Regions from separate parts of the Homo sapiens genome. Here all the other regions are linked to region 2. Evidence: promoter capture Hi-C in 16 types of primary human blood cells and fetal thymus (Javierre and others, 2016). All regions are on one chromosome and are shown on one strand. The core of a region is centred on a gene start or on the middle of the fragment in contact, and the rest is flanking DNA. Distances in the headings are between cores, read along the strand shown.

What was found. The method cuts DNA at HindIII sites, captures the fragments that hold promoters and counts their contacts. A CHiCAGO score of 5 or more calls a contact.
Region 1: a fragment that was not itself captured here is called in contact with the fragment with the promoter of DLEU1 in region 2 in 9 of 17 cell types (non-activated CD4 T cells, naive CD8 T cells, total CD8 T cells and 6 more); the score reaches 11.5 in non-activated CD4 T cells.
Region 3: a contact is called between a fragment that was not itself captured here and the fragment with the promoter of DLEU1 in region 2, in 1 of 17 cell types (naive B cells). The highest score is 5.4, in naive B cells.
Region 4: a fragment that was not itself captured here is called in contact with the fragment with the promoter of DLEU1 in region 2 in 1 of 17 cell types (fetal thymus); the score reaches 6.6 in fetal thymus.
Region 5: a contact is called between a fragment that was not itself captured here and the fragment with the promoter of DLEU1 in region 2, in 1 of 17 cell types (monocytes). The highest score is 5.9, in monocytes.
Region 6: a contact is called between a fragment that was not itself captured here and the fragment with the promoter of DLEU1 in region 2, in 3 of 17 cell types (fetal thymus, monocytes and non-activated CD4 T cells). The highest score is 7.4, in fetal thymus.
Region 7: a fragment that was not itself captured here is called in contact with the fragment with the promoter of DLEU1 in region 2 in 1 of 17 cell types (fetal thymus); the score reaches 6.2 in fetal thymus.

Annotation. Positions count from the first base shown.
Region 1 is chr13:50,895,817-50,899,332 of GRCh38, reverse strand. All of the region lies in intron 1 of RNASEH2B-AS1 (RNASEH2B antisense RNA 1), which reads left to right. Among named protein-coding and RNA genes, the nearest start is that of RNASEH2B, 12 kb to the left of the region's middle. The HindIII fragment of the contact is 1,601 bases long and covers 1,269-2,869 here.
Region 2 is chr13:50,080,437-50,084,318 of GRCh38, reverse strand. DLEU1 (deleted in lymphocytic leukemia 1) reads right to left here and starts at 2,150. Exons shown (of 7, transcript NR_109974.1): 1 at 1,762-2,150; 2 at 1,125-1,177. The region is part of intron 1 of DLEU2 (deleted in lymphocytic leukemia 2); the gene reads left to right. RefSeq lists enhancers at 1,226-2,021, 3,639-3,698 and silencers at 2,179-2,228, 2,629-2,848, 2,712-3,006. The HindIII fragment of the contact is 5,734 bases long and covers 1-3,882 here.
Region 3 is chr13:50,876,735-50,880,196 of GRCh38, reverse strand. No RefSeq gene overlaps it. Among named protein-coding and RNA genes, the nearest start is that of RNASEH2B, 31 kb to the left of the region's middle. The HindIII fragment of the contact is 2,773 bases long and covers 1-2,762 here.
Region 4 is chr13:51,080,868-51,083,665 of GRCh38, reverse strand. It overlaps C13orf42 (chromosome 13 open reading frame 42), which reads left to right. Exons shown (of 4, transcript NM_001351589.3): 4 at 1-1,547. Among named protein-coding and RNA genes, the nearest start is that of C13orf42, 29 kb to the left of the region's middle. The HindIII fragment of the contact is 1,139 bases long and covers 979-2,117 here.
Region 5 is chr13:50,977,666-50,981,361 of GRCh38, reverse strand. No RefSeq gene overlaps it. Among named protein-coding and RNA genes, the nearest start is that of RNASEH2B-AS1, 69 kb to the right of the region's middle. The HindIII fragment of the contact is 1,672 bases long and covers 1,138-2,809 here.
Region 6 is chr13:50,933,336-50,937,236 of GRCh38, reverse strand. It overlaps RNASEH2B (ribonuclease H2 subunit B), which reads right to left. Exons shown (of 11, transcript NM_024570.4): 5 at 2,238-2,352. Among named protein-coding and RNA genes, the nearest start is that of RNASEH2B-AS1, 25 kb to the right of the region's middle. The HindIII fragment of the contact is 1,812 bases long and covers 835-2,646 here.
Region 7 is chr13:50,850,879-50,854,849 of GRCh38, reverse strand. No RefSeq gene overlaps it. Among named protein-coding and RNA genes, the nearest start is that of DLEU7, 9.2 kb to the right of the region's middle. The HindIII fragment of the contact is 5,277 bases long and covers 1-3,971 here.

The sequences.
Region 1 (3,516 bases), core at 820-3,319, 820 kb before region 2:
GACCATTGTGTTTCAATTGCCTACAGTATTCAGTATAGTAACGTGCTATACAGGTTTGTAGCCTAGATGCAATAGGCTACACCATACAGCCTAGGTATGTAGTAGGCTACACTATTTGGGTGTGTGTAAGTACACTCTGTGGTAATCACACAATGGTAAAATCGCCTAATGATGCATTTCTCAGAATGTGTCCCTGTTGTTAAGTAACACATTACTGTAGATGCATAAGTGAAATCTTAAGAACATACTAAGTCTTAAGTATAAGAAAGTTCCAGAGTGATACATATACTGTGGTATGATTTACATAAAGAATATGAACACTTAAAAATGGTGCATATTGTATATGGAATTTATGTAGATATCCCATGACATAAACATGTATATGATATATATGTGTATATGAGATATGTTCGTTATATATATTTCTGTGAATATACATATATATTATTTTTAAACTTGCCAGGAAAAAAAATGTCCCTGAATAGTCATCACTCTTTGGAAGGGAAAACAGGCAGTGGTACAAAGGCATCATTCACCTACATCTATAATAGTTCAAATTTTAAAATAAAATATTTAAAGCAAATGTGACAAAATTTGTCTCTACTTTCTGTATGTTTGAAGAAGAGCTTACTTCCTTATAGCCTGTACTCTAGATGGCCATTTATTTTCAAACAGAGACCAGATATAAAACACAACACCATGTCCTTAACTTGTAAAGAAGATAAGCTGGGAATACATCTTTTTAAAAATAGCTATATGGTGTGGACACGGTTTTCAGCAAAGAAAGCCCTAGTTCCTGTTTTCACTTAGGGTTGTGATAAAGGGAAGAGACTTGAGTGGCAGACAGAGATTTAGATTAGATATTAGAAATAACTTCATATCTCTGCAAGACACCTAAGATTGCCTGGGGATTTTGAGAACAAGAACTTTGCTGAAACAGCTTATGCTCTACCCTACTTGGAACCAGAAGAGATTATCAACATCCTAGTTGTCCTTTAAAATTTGAGATTCTGTCTGCCATTTCTATAGGCGTGAAGATCTTAACTGATCTACTCAGAATCTACAGCAAGGCAGAAAGAACGCAGTGGAAGAGAACAAAAACAAACAAACAAAACTTGGTCCTCAGCCATCAAGAGCCTGTTCTAACATTGGAAGTTAATGGTACTCTAACAGGACAGTGGCAGTGAAGGCCCTGGAGAGGGGAGGAAGGCAAAGAGGGCACCACTTCACTTGTACTCTAGTTATTTCTATCCATCAATCAGTAAGCTTGTAGAGGAGCTTTCAACTTCCATATGTGCAAGATGCTCTGTAGAATGCATGTAAGAAAGAAAAACATCATTGCTTATTCTTTAACAGCTTACAATCAAATTTGAAAAAATCCACACATGAAATATTAAAAAAAAACCATAACACAACAATCGGTAGCACAGTTGTGAAAGCAAGAAAAGGTAAGGACAATCAGTATGGGCTGGACTCATCATGAATGAGAAGGCATTTATAAAGAGCCCCATAGGATGAATGGAACTTGAACTGTCATGGAAGAGTTGGTTGAGAGGGCATTTCAGGTATAGGGTAAACATAGGCTGAAACCTGAGGGAGGAATACTCCCGAATACCATAGCATGTTGTTAAATGGAAGTTTCTGGCTATAGTGCAGATGTTTCAGAGAATACAGGAGGTGATGAAGTGAAATAGCTGAATAATTGGTGGTCACGGATTGCTTTTTATTTATTTATTTTTAAATTTTTAATTTTCGTGGGTACATAAGTGTATATATTTATGGGGTATTTTGATACAGGCATGCAATGTGTAATAATCACATCAAAGTAAATGGAGTATCTATCACCTCAAGCATTTATCCTTTGTGCTACAAACAATCCAATCATCCTCTTTCAGTTGTTTTTAAATGTACAATAAAATCATTATTGACTATAGTCATGCTGTTGTGCTGTCAAAATACTAGGTTTTATTCATTCTTTCCAACCATTTTTTTTGTACCCATTAACCATCACCACTCCCTGCCACCTCCACCACTACTCTTCACAGCCTCTAGTAGCCATCCTTCTACTCTCTATCTCCATGAGTTCAATGATTTTAATTTTTAGCTCCCACAAATAAGTGAGAACATGCAAAGTTGGTCTTTCTGTGTCTGGCTTATTTCACTTAACATAATGACCTCTGGTTCCATCCATGTTGTTGCAAATGACAGGATCTCATTCTTTTTTATGGTTGAATAATGCTCCATTGTGTGCATGTACCACGTTTTCTTTATCTATTCATCTGTCTATGGACACTTAGGTTGCTTCCAAATCCTGGCTATTGTGAATTGTGTTGCAATAAATATGGGAGTGCAGATATCTCTTTGATATACTGGTTTCCTTTCTTTTGGGTCTATACTCAGCAGTGAGATTGCTGGATCATATGGCAGCTTTATTTACAGCTTTTTTTAGGAACCTCCAAGCTGTTCTCCACAGTGGTTGTACTAATTTACATTCCCACCAACAGTGTGTAAGTGTTCTCTTTTCTGCACATCCTCGCCAGCATTTGTTATTGCCTGTGTTTTGGATAAAAGCCACTTTAACTGGGGTGAAATGATATTTCATTGTAGTTTTGATTTGCATGTCTCTAATGATCATGATGTTGAGCACCTTTTCATACACCTGTTTGCCATTTGCATGTCTTCTTTGGAGAAATGTCTATTCAGATCTTTTGTCTATTTTTAAATTGGGTTATTAGATTTTTTTCCTGTAAAGTTGTTTGAGCGCCTTACATTTCCTGGTTATGAATTCCTTGTCAGTTGGGTAGTTTGCAAATATTTCTGTGGGTTTTCTCTTCATTCTGTTGATTGTTTTCTTTGCTGTGCAGAAGCTTTTTAACTTGATGTGATCTACAAAATGCTTTAAAAATCAGCCAGAGATTTCTAAATTTGAGGATGGAGAAAAGAAACAAGTGTCTGTTCTTAAGTAGGTCAAGGATATATTGAAAATGACATTTCAAAGACTTCTTTAGCAGCAACGTTCATAATTAAGCATTTAATATGGATTCTTTATAAAATAAAAGTTCATCTTGCTATTTGTGCTTTTTTATATTAAAATATAGGGTGTTTTGTTAACTGATTACTTGATTATTTTAGAACATGCTTAAGAAGCCTAAGTATAATCAGATAACCTCAACATCAGTAGGACAACTGATGCTGAACCTTAACTTGGAGCTTTAAACTCTTTTCCAAATGGTTTGTCCTTTAGATTTTCACTGCATCTAAGCACTGTGAGCTAGTTATTTCTCAGAAAACACCAATAACAGTAATAACAGCTAATATGGCAAAAATGAAAAATTCAGACGACTTAACTATACAGTGTTTATATAATGTTCATGTGCCATTGAGAAGGGGTGCTGGAAATGAGTTTTCAGCCTCAGTGTACCAGGACAGCAGGTCGAGCACAGAACTGAAGCCTTGGGCTCTGTCCTATCTCTAGGTCTAGTCTATTGCTTTCTTAGTCAAGTCATTTCCCCATTG
Region 2 (3,882 bases), core at 901-3,400:
CACGAGGTCAGGAGTTGGAGACCAGCCTGACCAACATGGTGAAACCCCGTCTCTACTAAAAATACAAAAATTAGCCGGGCGTGGTGGCGCGCACCTGTAATCCCAGCTACATGGGAGGCTGAGGCAGGAGAACTGCTTGAACCCGGGAGGCAGAGGTTGCAGTGATCCAACCAGCCTGGGCAACAGAGTGAGGCTCCCTCTCAGAAAAAAAAAGAAAAAAAATGCTGACCCCTAAAGGCACTAACTGTAGTTTGATTTTTGAACAACCATTAAAGAAGCCAGTTTAAAAGATCAATGACTGACTGACAATAACAAACATTTACTAATATGCCAAGCACTGTTGAAATTCCTTTAATATGTTAGCTCATTTACATCCTTACAACAGTCCAATGAGGTATTAATAGTACTTGTTTTACAAAAGGTCCAACAGATAATTTACCCAACAAGGCACAGCTAGTAAGTAGTGGAGCTGGGATTCACCCAGGCAGCTCGGTTCCAGAGTCGACCCACTTAAGTAGTGCAAAAAAGTACCAGAGATTAAGTAGTGTATTTATACTACTCTGCCACGTTACTTCTTGCTGATCTCAAATTGCTAAAATCCATTTCTTTTCCAAGACACTTAAATAATGCAAACCATGCTACCCTTCTCCCACTTCCTTATTAGTACTTCAGGCACTTTCATATCTACTCTCTTATTTAACATTCACAATGAAGGTTTTAAAATATTTACAACTTTATAGGGCTCCACGCGGTGGCTCACGCCTGTAATCCCAACACTTTGGGAGGCCGAGGCGGGCGGATCGCGAGGTCAAGAGATCGAGACCCTTCTGGCCAACATGGTGAAACCCCGTCTCTATTAAAAGTACAAAAATTAGCTGGGCGTGGTGGCACTTGCCTGTAGTCCCAGCTACTCGGGAGGCTGAGGCAGGAGAATTGCTTGAACCCGGGAGGCGGAGGCTGCAGTGAGCCGAGATCGCGCCACTGCACTCCAGCCTGGCGACAGAGCGAGGCTCCGTCTCAAAAAAAAAAAAAAATTACAACTTTATTATCGTTAATTGTCCTATCAGAGTGCCCATTTTTTTTGAAGGTAGACAGGTTTGCCTAGATATGGTGCTTCTACTTACCAGTTCTAAGACTTTGGGGCAGATTTCTTAATCTGAACCTCAGGTGTCCTCATCTGTAAAGTGAAGATAATACCTACTTCATAAGGCTGTTGTGAGCAATAAACACGATTAATTCGTAAATCATTTATTTAGCACAGTGCCCAGCACACAGTACACAGTCAATACGTGGTAGCTGTCAGTATACCAACGTGTTGCACAACAGAAACTCGTCTTTGCTGGATTCAGTTCACTTATCACGCCATTAAAAAAAAAAATCATCCTAAGTGACACAGAAAAACTGCCCATTCCTATCTCAAAAAGTTTATGAACAAGTTAAGACGGTAAGAGAAACTGAATTCAATGAAAGCGCCTTCGCAACAGGCAGCTTAGGACCGGGAAGAAGGGCTTCAGCAAACTTAATCATTAACTCTAGGCAGGCGCGCGCGCACACACACACACACCGTTGAAGAAGGAGACCACGCCTCCTGTGTGGGCTCAGGTTGAATCGTACAGCGTGGTAGAGAACTCCAGGGCTGCTGAATCTGACAGATGTGGATTCATCCACTTCTGTGCCACCTGTGCTGTCTTGGGCAAATTACTTAACGTCTCTGAGCCTAGGTTTCCTGGTCTTCAAAACGAGAACAGTAATAGTTCCTACCTGGTAAAGTTGTTCCGAGGCTTAAGTGCGATAACCCCTGTAAAGCGCTGGAGAACGGCAAAAGCTCTACAAGCCGGCAGGGCGGTTTTAAATGCACGTGTATCCATATACAAGGTCTCATTGATACATTCCGTTGTTTGGAGTTTAGACACTGGCTGTAAGACGTTTTTCTTTTCTCCTAAGCAGGACCCGTATTTGTTTACCTCCAACGTAGACTAAATGCCTGTGGGCTGGTAGCTATAAGACGACCCCTCGGCCCCACAACCTCTAAGTTCACTTCACCTCCGCGGCTTTGCAAAAGCGCTACACGCACGCGCAAGAAGCAAGAGGACTGCAACCGAAGAAGCAAAGGGAGAGCCGTGCACCACGATGATTCTGCGCATGTGCCTGGCGGGAGGAGGGGGGAGGGTTGGAGTTTGCGCATGCGTAAAAATGTCGGGAAAGCAAGAGAAGGGGGGTTAAGAGGCGGTATTGACAGCTGTGGAGGCAGCCCGCGTTCCCGGCATTCCCTGGGGCGGCGGGGTTGGCTCTAACGAATTTGAATGAGGAGCCTCAGCGCTTTCGGCGCCATTTTCGAGTGATGCCTGATCTCATCAATCTAGCGGGAGAGACAGGATAACCTGTCCGAGAGTATAGCGCCACTATGACTCCGCCGGAAAAATTACTTTAAAAATCGCCAAAAATTACTTGGAGCAAAGGGCAGTCGGCGGAGCTTCGCCAAGGCTGGCGCAGTCGGTAAGAGCCTGAAGAAGTAGCAGAGCGGGACTCGGGAGGTGGCAGTGGTGGGACCCGCAGGCAGTGGTGGGTGCAGGGAGTGGGCGCGGGGTCTACTCTCACTTAATCGCGAAAAATCCGAGGAAGTAGGGTTAGGGGCAACTTGGGCGTCTGCGAGTGGGCGGCGGCGGGCGGAATGTGGCGGGAGCGCGGAGAGACGGGGCTGTGGGGGGAGGGGAGCTGCAGTTTGAGCGGGACGCGGACCGGCTGCGGCGGAGCAGCCGCCGCCCAGCGGATCTGTCAGCAAGACCCCCCGCCCGGGACCGGAGCCGGGGACGGCGCACTGCGGGGTCTCTGCAGGCGGCCGCTCCTTGACAGGAGGACTGGACGCGCGCCCCTCCCCCATTTCCGAACCGGGCCGCCTTTTCTCGCCGTTTTCTCGACCCGGTGATGGCCGTCATCTCGTGACAAGAAACTTAAGGTCGACAGAAAATTCAGGACCCGGAGTCATGGGTCCCTCCGGTGGGTCGTGGCAACAGTCCCCCCCGCCACCGCCCGGCACCCATCTATCTATATTGTCTTTTGACGCTGAAGCGTGAGGTGCCCCAGGAAAGAGTTTCCCAAGCCCTGGCTGCCCTCCCCCGGCGCGCTGGGTCCCGGTGAGGTCTCTAGGTAGGTAGGACTGGCCGCGGCTCGCGCTTCCAAGATGGGGCAGGGGCAGGCTTTTGAGGTTGTAGCGGGCTCTTAGGAAAGATGCTGGACTTTAGCTTCTTTCTGGGGATTTTTGTCATTTGCTCTCGCAGCGTTGTCCTTTCTCAAAGGGGAGGAGTGTTCACGGGTGAGATGAAAGATGGGGCTTCGAGCTAACGATTTCCTTCTCGTGGCTATTTCCTCCGAGTCGCACTTTCTTAGAAGACTTTTTTCTTCTCCGGTGTTTGAAACATGTCGCAAGGAAAAAAGCAATCTGTGAAACTATTAATGTTTTCCTCCCCCAAAAGTCTTTACCCGGACAACTTAACGGTAATTTTGCGATCCCCACCTTTTCTTGACGCTGAGGAGGAGGGACGAGAGTTGTTATTTGTCTTTCCCTTCGGTGATTTTTTTTTTCCCCCTTAGCTGGTGGTTTCTATCAATTCTTACTCCACAGCTCTTGAGTGATGTGAGCCAGTGACGGCATTAACTTTAGGTAATACTTCTATGGCCTTTGTAAAAATCCCGCGTTAAGGATGTATTAGATCTTGAGTTCTTTTCCGCGCTGGAGGCACCACTAGATTAACCCTTTGCCGGTGTATTGCGTGTGGGGCGCACGGCTCTGGGTTGCAAATATTCCGGAGATGCTTTCTGCAGCAGCTATTCTGTTCAGTTGTTCGCAAAGAGGAATAACGCTTCCTGGGAACCGCGGTGACA
Region 3 (3,462 bases), core at 127-2,626, 800 kb before region 2:
TTAAAGTGATCTTAATCTAATCAATTCTTCCCCATTCAGAAGAAACCTACTACATCAGAGTCTATTGAGAATCTATCTCCCTAATCACCCTCAGGCACAGGGTTATTATGTATTGATATCATACACACTAAAAAATTCCATCATACAGGTCTAGAAATACTTCCATAATACAGTAATATTTTAATAGAGTCATAACACACAGACAGCCACCCATTCTGCCTGTAGCCAGTCATGGAGCAATACATTTTGTACATAACCTGTAATTTCTTCTGGAGAGTGTAATTACAATGCCAATATGACATTTTATTTTTATTATTATTATTTAGTTAGTTAGTTAGTTACTTTTTGAGACAGAGTCTCACTCTGTCGCCAGGCTGGAGTGCAGTGGTGTGATCTCGGCTCACTGCAACCTCTGCCTCCCGGGTTCAAGTGATTCTTCTGCCTCAGCCTCCCGAGTAGCTGGGACTATGGGTGCCCACCACCACACCTGGCTAATTTTTGTATTTTTAGTAGAGATGGGGTTTCACCATGTTAGCCAGGATGGTCTAGGGGTTGATAAACTACAGTGCACAGGCCAAATCTGGTTTACTGCCTGATTTTGTAAATAAAGTTTTATTGGAACACAGCCTTGCCCATTTATTTACTTATTGTCTCTGACTGCTTTCATGCTACAATAGAGTAGTTGCAACAGAAACTATAGTCTGCAAAGCCTAAACTATTTACAACCTGGACCTTTAGAGAAAGTTTGCTGACTCTTTTTTTAATGGATAAACTAAAAGTATGTAAGTAAACATGATTTCATGTCTTATGATATGTCAGGTGAATGGTACAATCCTTTGGTTTAAGTTCTTAGTATTATACCTAAAGTATATCTACCATGAAATGCATTTTCCACCTTTCATAGTCTCAGCTGGTTAATCAAAATAAATGGATTCTATGGCATAATTCAGGATGTTACCATTTTTGCTTTTTAGATCAGCTCTTCACCCACTGTTTTCCTGTCATACACATGGTGTTCTTAAAATTGTAAATGAAAACTCATTTGAACTTACATTAGTAACTTCTGTTAAATTATACTGGATTGCTTATTAAGTAAGCATTATTATCCACATTAAATCTGTCACAGATGAAAAAATTACACATAAAGGAGACTGCTTGAGGCCCCAGGGCATGCTGTAATATACATAGAGGCTCCTGAATACTTGGTTTTCCATGTGGATCTCTGATTTTGCTGAAAGAAGTCTGTAAACTGATGTAGTCAGACAGCTCCCCACTGGCTACACATCTCTATAGAATTTAGAAGCATTGTTTATTTCAGCAGAGGTCTGGAATGAATTTTCCTTATAATTTAACTCCTGAAATGACTGTTTCAAAAGGTCAACTGTGGTGAACTTGCATATGTGACTTGCAGTCACAGCTAAGTCACGATCCCTTAGTTTTTCCAGAAGTCCACTAGAACGTTAGCTCCATGGCACTGTTATCTTGCATCTCCAGGTCCTGAAACAGCCCTTAGTGCATACTAGGTATTCAATAACTTTTTTTTGAATAAATGTTTTATGTAAATTCCATCACAAATATGGAAGATCTTAGAGGGGATTTTTGAAAACCAAAGAAAGTTGAAACTCCTTCACATGGAGTTTGGATGTTGAACTTAGAGGCTTGACTTAGCCATTTTTAAAAAACGAAATGTGTGTGTATGTTTATTTAAGGTACCTTAGTGACAGGTACAACCTACAGCCCAAAGACAATGTACAAAACCCAATGAGGGGACAAGCCTCCACTCTTTTATAAGATGCAGAAATTTGCAGGAGTCTATCACTCTTACTCTAACCATGAGAACAGACCAGAAGCACTACAAATGACAGTTTTATTTGTTGTTGCTTTCATTTGCATGTTTCACACTCATCAGAGAACCCAGGAGCCAAAAAAAAAAAAAAAAAAAAGAAAAAAATCCCTCAAATTAACTACATTTCCAAAAGGATCAAGCTCTTCCTAGAGAGAAGAGTCCCACAGCTGCTTTTGTTCCTAGGGACATGTTGGAAGGAGCACAGAAGAGGAAGGGAGAAACCAGCCTATCTTTAAACAAATTTTGGATGATTGTATATGGGTTGGCATAACAGAGTAGAATCACAAGGTACCCCAGGAATAGAACTAGTCTGTACCCACCCAGCCTCCATTGAGTGGATGGGAGTCGTACACTGAAAGCTGGTGCCAGGGTAGGAGAACTGAGAAATACCCTCCCCAGGTACACCAGGTCTTCCCAAAGTACAAGAAAGTAGCCCACTGAGCACAGGAAGCAAGGCAGGAGAAGCAAGAGGGATTCTCCAAGGCATGTGAGGTTCATCCATTGCAAGGCAGTCCCCATTACACACTGGGGGTAAGGCAGGAAAGCTGAAAGAAATCCCCTCCTAGAAAGCACGAGGCTTTCACCAAATGCAAGGCAGCAGCCTGCAGTAGCCAGAGGCAAAGCAGGAGAACTGAGAGAAATAGATGCTCCCGAAAACCCTTTCAACTCTCCAATCCCCTCAACCCTACCCACCCACCTCACCCCTACCTCCACCCTCCCTACACAAGGTCTCTACTGAGTACATTGTAGCCACCTATTGAATGCTGGAGGAAGAGCTATCTTAAGGCTCTGAGATGTGGAGGCAGAGTTTAGGCAAAGAAAAGGCCCCAGCAACCCAAGAAGTTGGTGGCTGGGCTGTAAGGCATAAAGAGAACTCCCACAGTTTGGAAAGTTGGGGGCTGGGCTGTGTGAAGCTTGGAGAACTTTCCAGAGTCTTACTGTCTCTAGGATTCCAAGATACACTGAGAGAAAAGTACTGATTCTACTTTTCAGATATTAAAACCAGCCATGAACTGAATCACAATAAGCTGTGACAAAGCTCAGACCCAGCCCAACTACACAGAGATCAGATGGGCCCTGTCTCCAATCACAGGGGACTGACAGAACCAGGGCTTTGCCATTTTATAGGCATCAGTATTATTTGCTTCAGTCACTATCGTTGTTTCTACATGAAATGGTCAGCATACAACAAAACGTGTATATGTATCAGCAGTGTTTGATTGTTTTAACAATGTTTATAGATAGATGATAGATAAATAGTTACTAATACCATGTTCATGGGTGAAAGATTTAATATTATTAAGACATCGGTTGTCTCCAAATTGATAGATTCATCGCAGTCCAAATCAAAATCCCAACAGGCTTTTTTTGTTTGTTTGTTTTTGTAGGAAATGACAAGCTAACTCTAAAGTTCACAGGAATGAAAAGCACCTAAAATAGGCAAATTCATTTTGAAAAAGAAGAACAAAGTTGGAGGGCTAAGACGACCTGATTTCAAAGTGCAAGGCTTCAATAATCAAGACAGTTTGATATTGGCACGAAGATACACAAAGAGATAATGACACAGACATTAGGTCCAGAAGACAGTCCAGTAATAGACTTTCACATATATGGAC
Region 4 (2,798 bases), core at 299-2,798, 1.0 Mb before region 2:
TGCAGAATGCAGTTGAGAAAGCAGCTCCTTTTGCTCTCTTTTCAGAGTTTTCCAGAAACTCCTGCTGCATTAAGCTAAGATGAGGCTAATGCCCTGGCAATGGGGTGAGGGAAGGGGTATGTCACGAGCCTGCCTGGGGGCCACACTGTTTCCTCAGGCCCCAAAACTCAGCTCCCCTTCACATAGGCAATTGACAAGAGAAGAAGGGAGATGGGGTGATTCTTTTCTTTTTCTTCTAATTCTTACCCAGAAAAATCTTTTTAAATATCCATGGAACCAGTTTATGACAGGCCACACCTTTCCCTTTCCCCAGTTAAGAGAACAATCAGAATCATTACGTTCTTTTGGTATAGAAAGGATTTCTGTATTTTAGGAACTATCTGAATCAGAATTACATTTAAAATATATTCTTTGTATTTCTAAATACTTTTTACATTTTTGCAATAGTTGTACCCATTCAAGCTTGAGAACCACTGGTTTGGAGAATATACTGAAATTTATCTATTCTCACTTCTTTTTTTGGCATTTTCTTGTAAACCAGTCTGTGCATGTATAAGGGTCTTTGGGCAGAAGGAAGGGAGAGAGACAAAAAACAGAAAACAAAACAAAACAAAGAAAACCACAATCATTTGAATTAAGCCAAGGATGTTCTAGGCTAAGGTCAGGCTAAGAACTGAACAGAGGCTTCCTTTCTGCCATGCCTGTGGGATGATATTCTTATTGTTCCATTTTTTAGGAAGAACCTTTTGTTTATGTGAACCTGATCATATGAATCTAAGAATATGTAACTCTTACAAATAAAAAACAGCTAGTAATTATATTGCATTCTTAGAAATTTTATCTCAACATGTTTTCAGAATGAAACCATACTAGAAATGTTTTAATACCTCTCTTTATTATTTTTCGAGTGCCAATGTCAATGTTTGGAAAGTTTCTTTCATTTTGTTGCTTGTACTAACCCAGCTATAGCCAGAAGCTTGACTGGAAAGTAAATGTTTAGGAGATTTGTTTTATAAACTGCATTAAAGCACTGCCATTTATCACCACAGATCTTTTATTTTCCCTAAATGTGGCCTTGTTTGAAGCCTCATCTATAAAAGTTCATTGTTGGGGATAAACTCAGGATAAAGGTGTCTTTACTCTGCCTCTTATCAAACTACAGTTTATCATAGATCCACCCTGAAATTATGTGGTGAAGATACTGTGTACATTTTGTTTTTAAAGATAAGAAAAAATAAACATGACTGCGAGGATGTTTGGAGTCCTGATTTTTTAAAAAGCATTTATTGCTTATGGCACATGAAGCTGTGCCGTCTTATTTTGCTTTGTTTTGTATGTTTTTTGTCTTTCATGAGACTATACACAGCCTGAAAAATTCCATGATTGGGAAACAGAAGGTTGTCTTGTCTTTGGGGATCATTTTTAGGTGTTTGAAGTTGGTGATAAACCCAAGGATCTGTGCTCTGCCTGGGGAATCTTGAGATGGTGTCTGGTGGGGTTTGAGATAAATGAAATCTGAAACAATAAAAGTCAATTCAGAAAACCCAGTTGAGTTGACAGATTCTTTTCTTCCTTGGATTGGCCAGTTATTCAATGGAATCAAGCTGATCACTGAGGCTATGTTAGATCTCTGGCTTTCCCAGGATTCTCAGTTTTGATACATGAAAATCTACCTATCCCTAGACAGAATGTCAAAAAGAGAGGATGTGCATCCGTGGCATCTGGCTTGTTTTTTAGCACCTGGTTTCTAGCTCCCGCTACAGACTGTCTTCTGCTTCATGGGGCAAGATGCATGGAGCTGCTAGTTTGATTTGAATCGTGTGTACCCAGCCATGTGCCATGCAACTGAGAGCATTGCTGCCAAGACCGACCTTCCTGGTGCCCATTCTCAGACACAGAGCCCAAAGTGTCTCTAACAGGACACTGTGTTCCTCTCACCACTGTTCGCCTTTGCAGAGAGAATGAGTTTCCTGTTGCTGCTGTAATAAATTACCACAGACTTAAAGGCTTAAAACAATATATATTTATGCTTTTACAGTCTGGAAGTCAGAAGAACCAAAATCAGTTTCACCAGGTTAGGTCAAGATGTTGGCAGGGCTGTGTTCCTTCTGGAAGCTTTAGAGGAGAATCCATTTCCTTGCTTTTTTCAGCTTTCAGGGGCTTCCTGCATTCCTTGGCTGGTGACCCCATCCTTGCATCACTCCAACCTATTGATTCCATCATCATGTCTCCACCTGCTCAGTCTGTGCTCCTGCTTCCCATTTATAAGGATTTTTTTTTTTTTTTTTGAGACAGAGTTTTGCTCTTGTTGCCCAGGCTGGAGTGCAATGGGCACGATCTTGGCTCACCGCAGCCTCTGCCTCCTGGGTTCAAGTGATTCTCTTGCCTCAGCCTCCTGAGTAGCTGGGATTACAGGCATGTGCCACCATGCCTGGCTAATTTTGTATTTTTAGTAGAGACGGGGTTTCCCCATGTTGGTCAGGCTGGTCTCGAACTCCTGACCTCAGGTGATCTGCCCACCTTGGCCTCCCAAAGTGCTGGGATTACAGGTGTGAGCCTACGTGCCCGGCCCATTTATAAGGATCTTTGTGATTACATCACTCTCACCTGAGCAATCTCTCCATCTCCAAATCCTTAATTTAATCAAATCTGCAAAATATCTTTTGCCATATAAAATGACATTCACAGGTTCTGGGGATTAGGATGGAAACATCTTTGGGAAGCCATTATCTAGCCAACCATACAGCATCACAAGATGTTCTAGTCCTAACAGACCCAGCCCAATTCCCTTTTAAGCT
Region 5 (3,696 bases), core at 724-3,223, 900 kb before region 2:
TTCTTGCCTTTGGACCCTGGAAGTCCTTTCTGTGGGAGGGAAACTATCATAGTGCCTACTTCAAAAAGTTGTTACAATGATGAGTGACATGGCACTGGCAAAGCATATAGTGCTTTGCACATGTAACTCTGCAATAAATGTTAACTAAGAGAAAATTCCCTCTACAGATGAAGTCTGTAAGCGTTCTTACAGAATAAGTAGAAGTCCTAAATCTTATTGATGAAGTCAATATGCCTTCCTAATGCCACATTGCCTGGTCACCTGGTCTAAGCGAGAAGCCCCTCTAATTCCTTCTCTGTGCTTTGTTGTCTTTCAGGATTAAAGTTTCCTGATATACATATGGAATATTTCTTAGATTTATTTCTGGTTATTTTAGCTTTTTTGATGTTCTTGAAAGTGTAAAAGGGTCTTTTCTTCCATGACATCTATCCGGCAGTTGCTTAAATGTATAAAAGCTTTTGATATTTATATATTGATTTTACATTAAGCTACCTTACTGAATTATAATTTTTATAATCTTTTTCAGATGATTCTCTTGGGTTATGCAAATATAAGATCTGCAAGTAATGATAATTTTACTTCTTTTCAATTTGTATATGTCTATTTTCTCTCTCTTATTTGTTTAAAACATTCTTATCATACTCCTGACTTTAATGGTAACACTACTGATATTTCTCCACTAAACATAATGTTGACTTTTATTTTGTATAAATTAGGGAAGTACACATCTATTCCTATTTCACTGAATTATTTTGAGATCAATAATGGCAGTTGAATTTTACTAGGTATCTTTTTTTTTTTTTTAATATAGGAAGGGGTTTAATTGACTCACAGTTCCACAGGGCTAGGGAGGCCTCAGGAAACTTACAATCATGATGGAAGGGGAAGCAAACACATCCTTCTTCACATGGCGACAAGAAGAAGTGCTACCAAGTATCTTTTAAGTATCTAAGGAGATTAATAATACCTTATTTCTTTCTTAGATAACTAATATGGTAAGACTTCTTAATATTGAACCATCTTTATATTATGAATAAACCCCAATTTGTCACATTGTATTATTCTTTTAATGAATTGTTTGAGTCTATTTGGTAATATTTTATTTAATATTTTTGCATTAATATTTACAAGTAAGCTTGTTTTTTTGAACTCTACAATCACCAGGTTTTAAAAAATCAGTATTTTGCTCACCTTTTTGTCCTGTTTAATAAATCTTTCCTGTACCCAAATCAATTTCATTTTGCTTGGTTTTCTTATTTTTAACCTCTGAGCTCTTGTGCTATTATTATTGTCTATCTTCCTTCAAACACATCTTTGTTTCTTTGATGGTTTACATTTTCCCCCATGCCTACCCTGTAGTGCGCCAGCTCAAACAACATCACTTGTCTTTCTGTGACTTCCATGATTCTTCCCTCTCTACTTTGTGCCCAAACTTCATAGAGGTAATTGTTTAAGTATTTTATGTTTGTAGTAAAATGCTTTTTACTATTTTTATCTGCTCTTTGGCAACACTTTATCTGCCATTTACTTTTTCTGGTCTTTTTTTTTCTTGTTTTATGTTTCATATCTTTGAAATAACTTGGGTTTGTTCTTTTTGGTTTCTCATCTTTGAGGCACAAGAGTTTTCCTTGGGCCAAATATTTACAGGGCCTCATCCCAGCCTAGTAGGAATTTTCTTTATAAACCAGGGTTTTGCATGCAAGTTTTAGTTCTATTTCTCCCTGATCAATAAAGACAGGTAGCTATGGGGATTTTTAAAAAGCAACGTCTCTCTTCTTTCCCTCTGCCACTGAGATAGATAGTTCCTGCAAATGTGATGTGGATGTGTGATTTTTTTTTTTTTAACTCCATCACCTCTTCATTTCACAACTAAATTGGGTCTTGGAGAGTTCTTGCTGTTCTGGTGTGTATACTGGTTCCTTCTGTCATAAACATGTGACTTAGACTTTATTCCTCACCTCTGCCCTCTCTGTTTACAAATGTATTTTTGCTGACTCAGTCTCATTTCCACAGCCATGAACTCTTCCTTCCTCTTTCTCCTGGAAGCTCCCCTGCTTTTTGCAGTCCTTCCATCTATTTGTTGTTCATAGTTTAAAATACCTCCTAGTTTTGCTGAAAATTGATTTTTTGGTTTCCATTTCTTATTTTCCTTTTGCTTTGGATGATTTCAAAGAAGAGATTGGGGGTGGGAGGTGGGGATAGAGGATGAACTTCCCACCTCCATCTTCAAATCAGAAACATTAGTATTTCAAAACTTTAGTGTGAGTAAAGGGTAAAAGGCAGCTATTTCTGAAAATCTTTTAAAGAAAAACAATATGGGATTCACTTTATAGAGCACATAGACATTGAAGCCTCAAGGTGGATTTAAAGCATTCGGGGTATTTTCTTAGCTTATCACTTGGGAAAGTCATCTAATCTTTCTAGGCCCCATTTTTCCAATGAAGGGGTTTGACAAGAAGATTCCTAGAGCCTGAAGACAGAACAGACTAGCCTTGAAGCCCAGTGTTCTCTCCTAGAGAAATATACAGAAGCATGCAAGCCTGTCCTGCCTGAGATTCATGGGCTGGTTACACTCCAGCCACCGCTGCCTCTGTCACCCTGCCTTCTACTCTAGCTCCATGGCAAATATTTAAAAACCAGACCTTTTCATAGGCATCATACTGATTTAGTCTCTAATCATGAATCCAACCAAAATATCTGGATCCTCTCTGCCATCAGTCCATGGTGACCAGATCTGGGCTGTGTTAGGGGTCATTGCATTCAGCCTGTACTCTGGAAATTACACTCCCAACATTCATTTACTAAAGCTTTAACAAAATTATTCAGACAAACTATCCATTTAAAAAGTAGACTGAGTAGTTATCTTTGAAGACCCAAGGAATCTTTACCCAAGATTAATAAGAAAAAACAAACTGAAAAAAAAACTGGTGATTTTGTTCACATTAAAAAAAAAATGCTGCATGTTAACCATCTGTCATGGTTTACTAATTAAATCACTGCAACTAATCTTGTATTAATATTTTTTTAAAGTTAAAAATGGGTTTCCTGAAAATGCTTAGAATTTCTGTGGAATTGCTTAGAAAGTCTTTTTACTTTTTGAACTTCCTTGGCCTTATAAAACTGTCAGCAGAGCAAAGTAAGGGCCAGTTTTCTGCAGCCATAACTCCCCCATCTCTTTTACAAGTCTTTATTCTTCGGAAATATAAAGGGTTGTGTTGAAAAGCATTAACTGGGGGCCGGGCGCGGTGGCTCACGCCTGTAATCCCAGCACTTTGGGAGGCCGAGGCGGGTGGATCATGAGGTCAGGAGATCGAGACCATCCTGGCTAACAAGGTGAAACCCCGTCTCTACTAAAAATACAAAAAATTAGCCGGGCGCGGTGGCGGGCGCCTGTAGTCCCAGCTACTCGGGAGGCTGAGGCAGGAGAATGGCGTGAACCCGGGAAGCGGAGCTTGCAGTGAGCCGAGATTGCGCCACTGCAGTCCGCAGTCCGACCTGGGCGACAGAGCGAGACTCCGTCTCAAAAAAAAAAAAAAAAAAAAAAAAGAAAAGCATTAACTGGGAAAATAAATGAGCAGCAAAATTATCAGTTTCCATTCAGTGATTAGTTGCCTCTGGTCTGCTTGTTAACAATGGAAAGCCTTTGAAGGCTGACGCCTTTCTTTGCACCTGGGTAAATGAAGTCACCTGACTTTG
Region 6 (3,901 bases), core at 491-2,990, 850 kb before region 2:
AAAATAAAAATAAAAAAATAAAAATAAAAATCTTTTTCTTTCTGTTTTTAAAACTTCCATTATTTTGAGATTCACAGGCTGCAGCTTATTAAGGGAAGAATTTGATAAAAAGAAACTGCCAAACCTCTAGAGATTGAATACATCTTTTACTGTGTGAAATTTATTCTAAAGTATTTTATGTTTTGCCCATCACTTAAAAATAAAGAAAAAAATTGAGGCCTAGGGTTTTTGAAATCTGGCAAATATAAAGGCTAATAATATAGCTACTTTGAAAATGGAAGTACAGAACTTCCAAAAGTTAGGCAATATTGAGAAGCAAAGGAGACTAAGACAAGTTCAGATAATGATGCAATAAATGGTCAGGAGTTCGGTGTACAAGAGGGAAGGGATGACACAGAGAGAGCCTCTTGCTCTCGGCTGCAGACTGTAAGGAAACAAATGCTGAGGCACTAACATTGTTTCTAAATCTGGATTTCTGGGTTTTAAGATGATTGTTCTTATACAGCTAATAGCAGAATTCTGGACAATGAGTTAACTGCATTTTCAGCTTGCATTAAGTTGACAAAAATTAACATGGCTTAATTAAATTATTCTTCATTACTTTATCTTTTAAAAGTGGTTATGGGCTAATTCAGGTCACCCACAAAAAGACTGCTGTCTTCTGCCAAACTCAGCATCAGGGAATGTCTTTAATGGAACTGCTTTGATAAAACCCTGGCACCATATACCCCTCAGTTCCAAACTGGAGCTCCAAGTGTGGCCAAGTATGAATTTACTGGACCCCTTAAACATAAAATGCAATCAATAAGGTTCTTCTCTTTCCCACTGTAAGCTTACACTTCTTGGAATCACCACTTTCTTGGTCCCAGAAGAACTGTCATAGTTGGCCAAACCATCTATGACCCAAACAGCCACAACTTATCAGCCTGATGCTCTGGTTCCCACACTTTGTTTCCATATTAACCCTGAAACTACTTGGATGATTTTTTAAGACACCAAAGCCAAGTTTTTATACTATTTCTAACCTGTCAAAACACATTCACACACACTGCCTTACTTTTCCCTCTGAAAAATTAAATGAATGATAGTGAAAACGCATCTCTTCATTACCCTATCCTGCTCCTCCAGCCCATGTTCCCTGTGTCCAGGATCCCACCACTACACATCCTTTGGGTCAGGCACAAACCGAGAAGTCACTCTTGACTCCTCCTTCTCCTTGACCACCACCCAACAACCAGATGCAGTTGGGTCCATCTCTAAATGGCTACTTTCTTCTTGTTCTATCTCCTAAGATCAAGGCCACCATTATCTCCTGTCTGGATCACTGCAACAGCCTTGGTGGACCTGGCTTCTCCAATATACTCTCCACACTGCAGACTGCCATGCTTAAAACTTCACAGACACTCCACTACCATTAAGCAAAGTCCAAACACACACAGGGCCCTTTACCATCTGGACCCATGCCCAGCATTCCCGCCTCATTCCTTACCAACCTACATCCTTCCCCAGAATCCTATACTTTGAACTCCTTGGAACTTCCTGAACCTGACAAACTTTTCCATACATCTGAGCCTCTGTTACACTGCTTCTCTGACTATCCTTCAGGACTCCATAAAGAGGTCATTTCCCCCAGGAAAGCAACACAACATCTACCCACCTACATTCCCCACCCAACCCCGCCAGATTAGAAACCTGTCCTGTGCATCCCCAGTAAATTCAGAGTTCACTTCCGTTACACTGTGCGGTCACTGCTCAGCTTGTCATTGACCCCCATCAGACTGGGCGCAAAGTGAAGAAAAGGACAATGTCTTATTCATAAGTATCTAGAGCTTAGCACTAATGTGCAACATATGCTTTTTGGAAGGTGCTCGATAAATGCTTCCATCTATTAAGGTACAGGTTTTACGTAATTTTACAATGAGACATCTGAGGCAGAAGGCAGCTGAGTGACTTGCCTGATGTCACAGAACTAGTTCAAAGAAGAAGTGAGACTGAAGCCACACCTTGTGATTCCTGCCCTGTGGACGTAGGCCCTAGACTGCCATGGTTGTAGTTCCAAAGACTAAACACTCCAAAGCAATAGAGGAACAGTGCTGGCAGTGTTAGCAAATCTGAATGATAGTTTTCCCTATGGTGGACACAGAATAAGCCTTACATTCAGTGTGTCTGTAAGCAGCCACGTTCTTAGGCAAGGTCCATCCTTTCTACCAGCCATAAGCCTTTAAGTTATACCATACCTTTTTCCTCTGTCACATGATGAAGTAACTTCTCAAGTCCAGGAAGTTTCAGCAACAAGATGCAATTTGGAAACACGTTATCCACCACAACTTGATCAAGGGGCTGAAACTTCCCCTGAAAAAACAGTTAGTTGGAAAGCAAGCATTTCATTCAACAAAGACATTCAGAAAAAAAGAGAAAAAGACACATTAACTCATGGCTGGGCCTTTAAACTTAGTGCAGAAGCCACCTATTCCATCTAAGGAATCCCTACAATGGGACAGGCTCTAGGACGGACCCCAGCTCCCTTCAGGAAGCTCCTGTGAGCACTGGAGTCCCACACAGCACACCATCTACCTTGGGTGTACAGTCCCCAAATGAAATGGGGAAGAAAATCAATCTACAAAAGCACTGGAAGCCACAGAAGCTTGCAAAGATGGTGGAGACTGCCTGGGGATGGTCCAACCCATTCAATTTGAAGAACCAGCTGTGGTCACAGAGCAAGAGTCCTGACTGTCACATTGGAACAAGCCCAGACCAGGCCCAGACATACATCTGCCTCCCCATCATCACTCTAGGGATGATGAAAGAAGCACCCGCCACAAAAAGAAAATACAAAAGTGAATCTACCCCTGTCAAAGCTGCCTCACAATGCTTCCAAATTTAGACCAGAATAAAAGAAAAGACAGCCAGAGGGAGAAGTCATGGGAAGCTGCAGACAGGCTAAATCAGGCTCAGCCACAGAAGTTTATATGGCCTGGTTGCCAGTGGGCCAGAAGTGCAGACCATATGGATTCACAACATCATTCTTTGGAATTAGGTCTAGTTTTTCGTAACTGTACTAGTAGCAAGTAGAGGTGAAGTTTGTCTAAATTAAGGTATTAGCCCCCTGATTTGGGGACACCAGACTGTACCAGATGTATGGCCTTGCCCATGACCCACTTCTAGCTCGCTCTACCTCTCGTGTACTGACAACTCCTCCTGAAGACACAAAAACTGCATCTGATCAATTTCTGCAAATGCAGCTTTCTTGGGTTTTAAGGGTAAAATCTTCTCAATCATTTAAGAACACGTGATAGCTTGCCATACTTTCTCTTAGGTTAACTAGTGCCATGAACTATCTCAATTTAAATGTTCTTTTTCCTTCAAATAGTAAGAATAATGCACAGATTTTTCCCAAGTCTTACTGTCTTTAGATTTCTACCTTAAATCTATAGTCTTCCATGATCAATCAATATCTTAAATATTTGACTACTCTAAAACAATATTTATATGTAATGGACTACCATACAATCATGATATAAAATAATTTTGTAATTAACTAGTGTTTCATTCTTATTTTTATTTACCATATATACATTGAAGGAAATGCAATAAGCAACCTGCCTTGACTATAAAGCTAGTAGCAGTGGGATACCTAGAAAAAAAGTTATTTTTACTGATGTTAAAATAAAGTTTAAAAGAACAGGTCACATTTCAAAAGTGTGTATCAATAATTTTTAACTAAATAGGAAATGATCATGTCTAAAATGTAGAGAAGGAAATACCTAAACATCTCAAATGTTACTTTAAAGGGCATTTTTGGCACTTGGGAAGACGTGTTTGGGAAGTACGACGGTTTAAAATGAAAGCCAAAGGCCACCCTGAACAGCATTTCTGCTTCATTCTGCACTTGTCAACGTGA
Region 7 (3,971 bases), core at 849-3,348, 770 kb before region 2:
AGTATTTGGATATTATATCTGTTACATCTCTTTCAATAAAATTTTGCATATTTATCAAAACCTATATGGAAATTTATTTATTATAAGGGGAAAAAAACACCTCTTAAGTCTAAACATGGTATACAACTACTCCCTCTACTTTCAAAACCTTTCCATAGATGCTAATAATAGAATAAGTGGATCTTTTACTGAGAAAGACATTTCAACAAGATTGAAAACAAAGAGAAAATATATAAAACATGTAAGAATGTAAAGTGGTTGGAGAGATTGAGAAGATGACTATCCTAGAAATCCTAGCATGAGAAAGCCCTCTGATTTTAGCAGAAAACATTATTTTGAATGTTTGACAGCAAAAGCAGAGAGGGAAAGTGATGGACAACATGACTTCATAGTAGTTGGTCAGGAGAGGCAAAGTTTTAAAGCTCTAAGCTCCATCAGAAATTTGCAGTGTGGATGAACCTCTGTATAATGAATGTTGAGGTACAACATGGATAATGTTAATAGCAGTGTATTAGTCTGTTCTTGCACCCCTATACAGAAATACCTGAGATAGATTACTGGGTAATCTATAAAGAAAAGAGGTTTAATTGGCTCACAGTTCTGCAGGCTGTACAGGAAGCACAGCATCAGCATCTGCTTCTTGGGAGCCTCAAGGAGCTTTTACTCATGGCAGAAGGCAAAGGGGTACACAGCACTTCACAAGGCCGGAGCAGGAGGAAGAGACAGGGGAGGTGCCATACACTTTCAAACAACCAGATCTCATGAGAACTCACTATCACAATGACAGCACCAAGGGGGATGGTGTTAAAGTATGGGAAACCATCCCCATGTTCCAGTCACCTCCCACCAGGCCCCACCTCTAACATTGGGGTTTACAATCGAACATGAGATTTGGGTGGGGACACAGATCCAAATCATATCAGGCAGTCTTTCTGAAACACCATGGAAATGTTCTAGATACAATCTTTGCTTAACCCCACACTCAAAGGCAGAGGAAAACTGACATTTAAGGGCCAAAGAGAAAAAGGATCTGACAAGGAAGGACCAGCCAGAGAACTGGGAGAAAAAAAAATAGACAAAGATAGCAGAAGCCACGAGAAAAGAAATGCTTTTTCAAGAAATGGTTAAGAGACTGACAAAGGGTCACTGAAGTTATAAAAATGTTGACTGGCTCTTAGGAAAGGCTCTGCTCTGGGAGTGGAGGAGGGCTGGAATGGAATTAGAAGTGAGGAAGTAAAAACAGGGCAAACAGGGAGGCCTTCCAAGGAGTTTGCTTCTGAATGGAGGATGGAAGTAAGCTGGATTGACAGAAGATGGGATTTTTAAGCAGCAAAAAATAACCAGCGTATTTAATGAAAAGAAGCCAGTGTAAAGAGTGCATTTGGAAACTTATGAGATGAATAAACTTAAAATAAAAAAGGATTTAGTGATGCTTTATGGGCTACATTAAAAAATATTTTCTTATTTAATTCATAAATATTAATATTATCCCCAGTTTACAGATAAGGAACTTGAATTTCAGAGAGTTTAAGAAAATCACTCCATTTACATAGTAATAAGGGTTGTGGGGCTGCATCTGTGTCTATCTGATTCCAGACCTTGTGTGTGTGTGTGTGTGTGTGTGTGTGTGTGTGTGTGTGTTTAAAATGCCTTTTAAAAATTACACAGACAATTCAAGGATGTACTTTTTTTTGATAAAATATCTAAACAATGTAGAAATCCACTGTTAGTCATTTGGTTTAGATCCTGCCAGACTCATGTGTAATTTCTTTAAAACATCAGAATCACACTATTACCCTCCAGTGGCTTCCACTCATTTAAAATCCAAAGTCCTTGGAACCACAGAATCAAAGTTTACTGGGGAAACTGAATATTCACACAGTCTCAAAATATCCCTCATAAATGATTTATTAGTTGCAAAGCAGCAAATGTACCTATGCAGGGGAAACCATTTTAAATGAGTGATCAAAAGTTTACACCACCACCAACGAGATATTAATAGAATGACATCTGGGGTCTCCTAAAGTATGCACTGAGGTCACAGTATTTATGTAACATTATTGCCAAAAATGCAAATGAATTTAATTGTGAGGGAATTTTTATACAAGCAGGAATTGAGGGAAAGCCTACAAAAAAACTTACCTGTACTATTAAAAAATATTAATGTTATGAAAGACAAAGGCTGAGGAATGGTTCTAGCTTAAAGGAAACAGGGAAACAAAAGACACATGACAATTAAATGCAATCCTGGATCAGAACGAAAGGAGAGAGGGGTCCTATGAAGGGCATTGTTGGGGCATTTAGTGAAATTTGAATGTATTAGACGGTAGTAGCTTGTCAACGTTCAATTTCCTGAGTTTGATAATCATACCATTATTATATAAGAGTATGCCCTTGTATTTAGGAGATTGATAAAAAGTATTTGGAGATTAAGGGTCATGATGTATGCAACTAACTCTCAAATATGTTTTAAAAAATGTTTGCTGAAAGAGATTGATGGAGAAATGAAGCAAACGTGGCAAAATGCTAACAACTGATCAGCTTCTAAAGAGTATATGGGAGTCCTTTGCTGTATTCTTACAATGTTTTCTCAAAATAAAGAGTTAAGAAAAAAGTCTATGTCCTTATAGAAGGCCCTCTGAGGTCCCAGCGCTCTTCTATTCCATCAAGTCCCCAGCATGCACTCTGTTCCATCCCTTATGGTCAGAGATTTCAGTTATTTACATTTTCCCTTTTCTTAAATTACACATACTGTACATACAACTGTGTACACATGTGAATATTTCTGTAGGACAAACACCCTTCAAAGAGGCTACATCTGTATTGTCCCCCACATGGCTAGCATATGACGCTAGCCATTACCCTGCATTGTTGGTGAACTGTGTATTAACAAACTTTTACTTCTGCCAGTGAGGGGTTGGGGGTGGGGGGATCATATCAACAATGGTGATCTCATTTGCATTTTCCTGATTACTCATGAGGTTGATGATCTTTTCATATGTTTGTCAGACCTTGAATTTTCTCTATTACCCTTCACCTATATTCAATCAAAGTCTATGCCATTAAAAAATTTGTGGTTGCTCTTTGTATATTAATTTATTAATTCTTTGTTTTTTACATTGCAAATATGTTTTCTCAGCCTTCCACTGGTTTTAAAATGTTATTTATAGTGTCTTTTATCAAATTAAGGTTTTAATATTTTATGTAATAAAATTTACCCAGTTTTTTCTTTATGACATCTTGACATCTGGCTATTGTGTCTTATTTCAAAATGTCTTCCCCATTTAATGCTTGTCAATATATCTAATAGTATATTCTTTGAAAAAAAGTTTATTTTTAACTTTTATGAATACACAATAATTGTACACATTAATGGGGTATATGTGACATTTTGATACAAGCATGCAATGTATAATGGTCAAATCAGTATAGCTGGGATATTCATCACCTCAAATATTTAACATTTCTTTGTATTGGAAACATACCAAATCTACTTCTCTAGTACACAATACATTATTGTTAACTATATTTGCTCTATTGTGCTACTAATTACTAGATCTTATCCCTTCTGTAATAACTGTAGTTTTGTACCCATTAACCAACCTGTTTTTATCCCCTTCCCCCAACACACTCTTCCCAGTCTCTGGTCTCTATCATTCTACTCTGCACCTACATTAGAGCAACATTTTTAGCTTCCACGTGAGTGAGAACACACAATAATTGTCTTTCTTGCCTTAATTCTTATTTGTCTTTCTAGCTTATTTTGCTTAAGAAATGTCCTCCAGCTCCACCTATGTTGTTACAAATAACAGGATTTTATTCTTTTTTATGGCTGAATAATATCCTGTTGTGTATATGTACCACTTTTTTTTTTTCTTTTTGAGACTGAGTCTCACTCCGTGTCCCAGGCTGGAGTGCAGTGATGTGATCTCGGCTCACCGCAACCTCCACCTCCCAGGTTCAAGCAATTC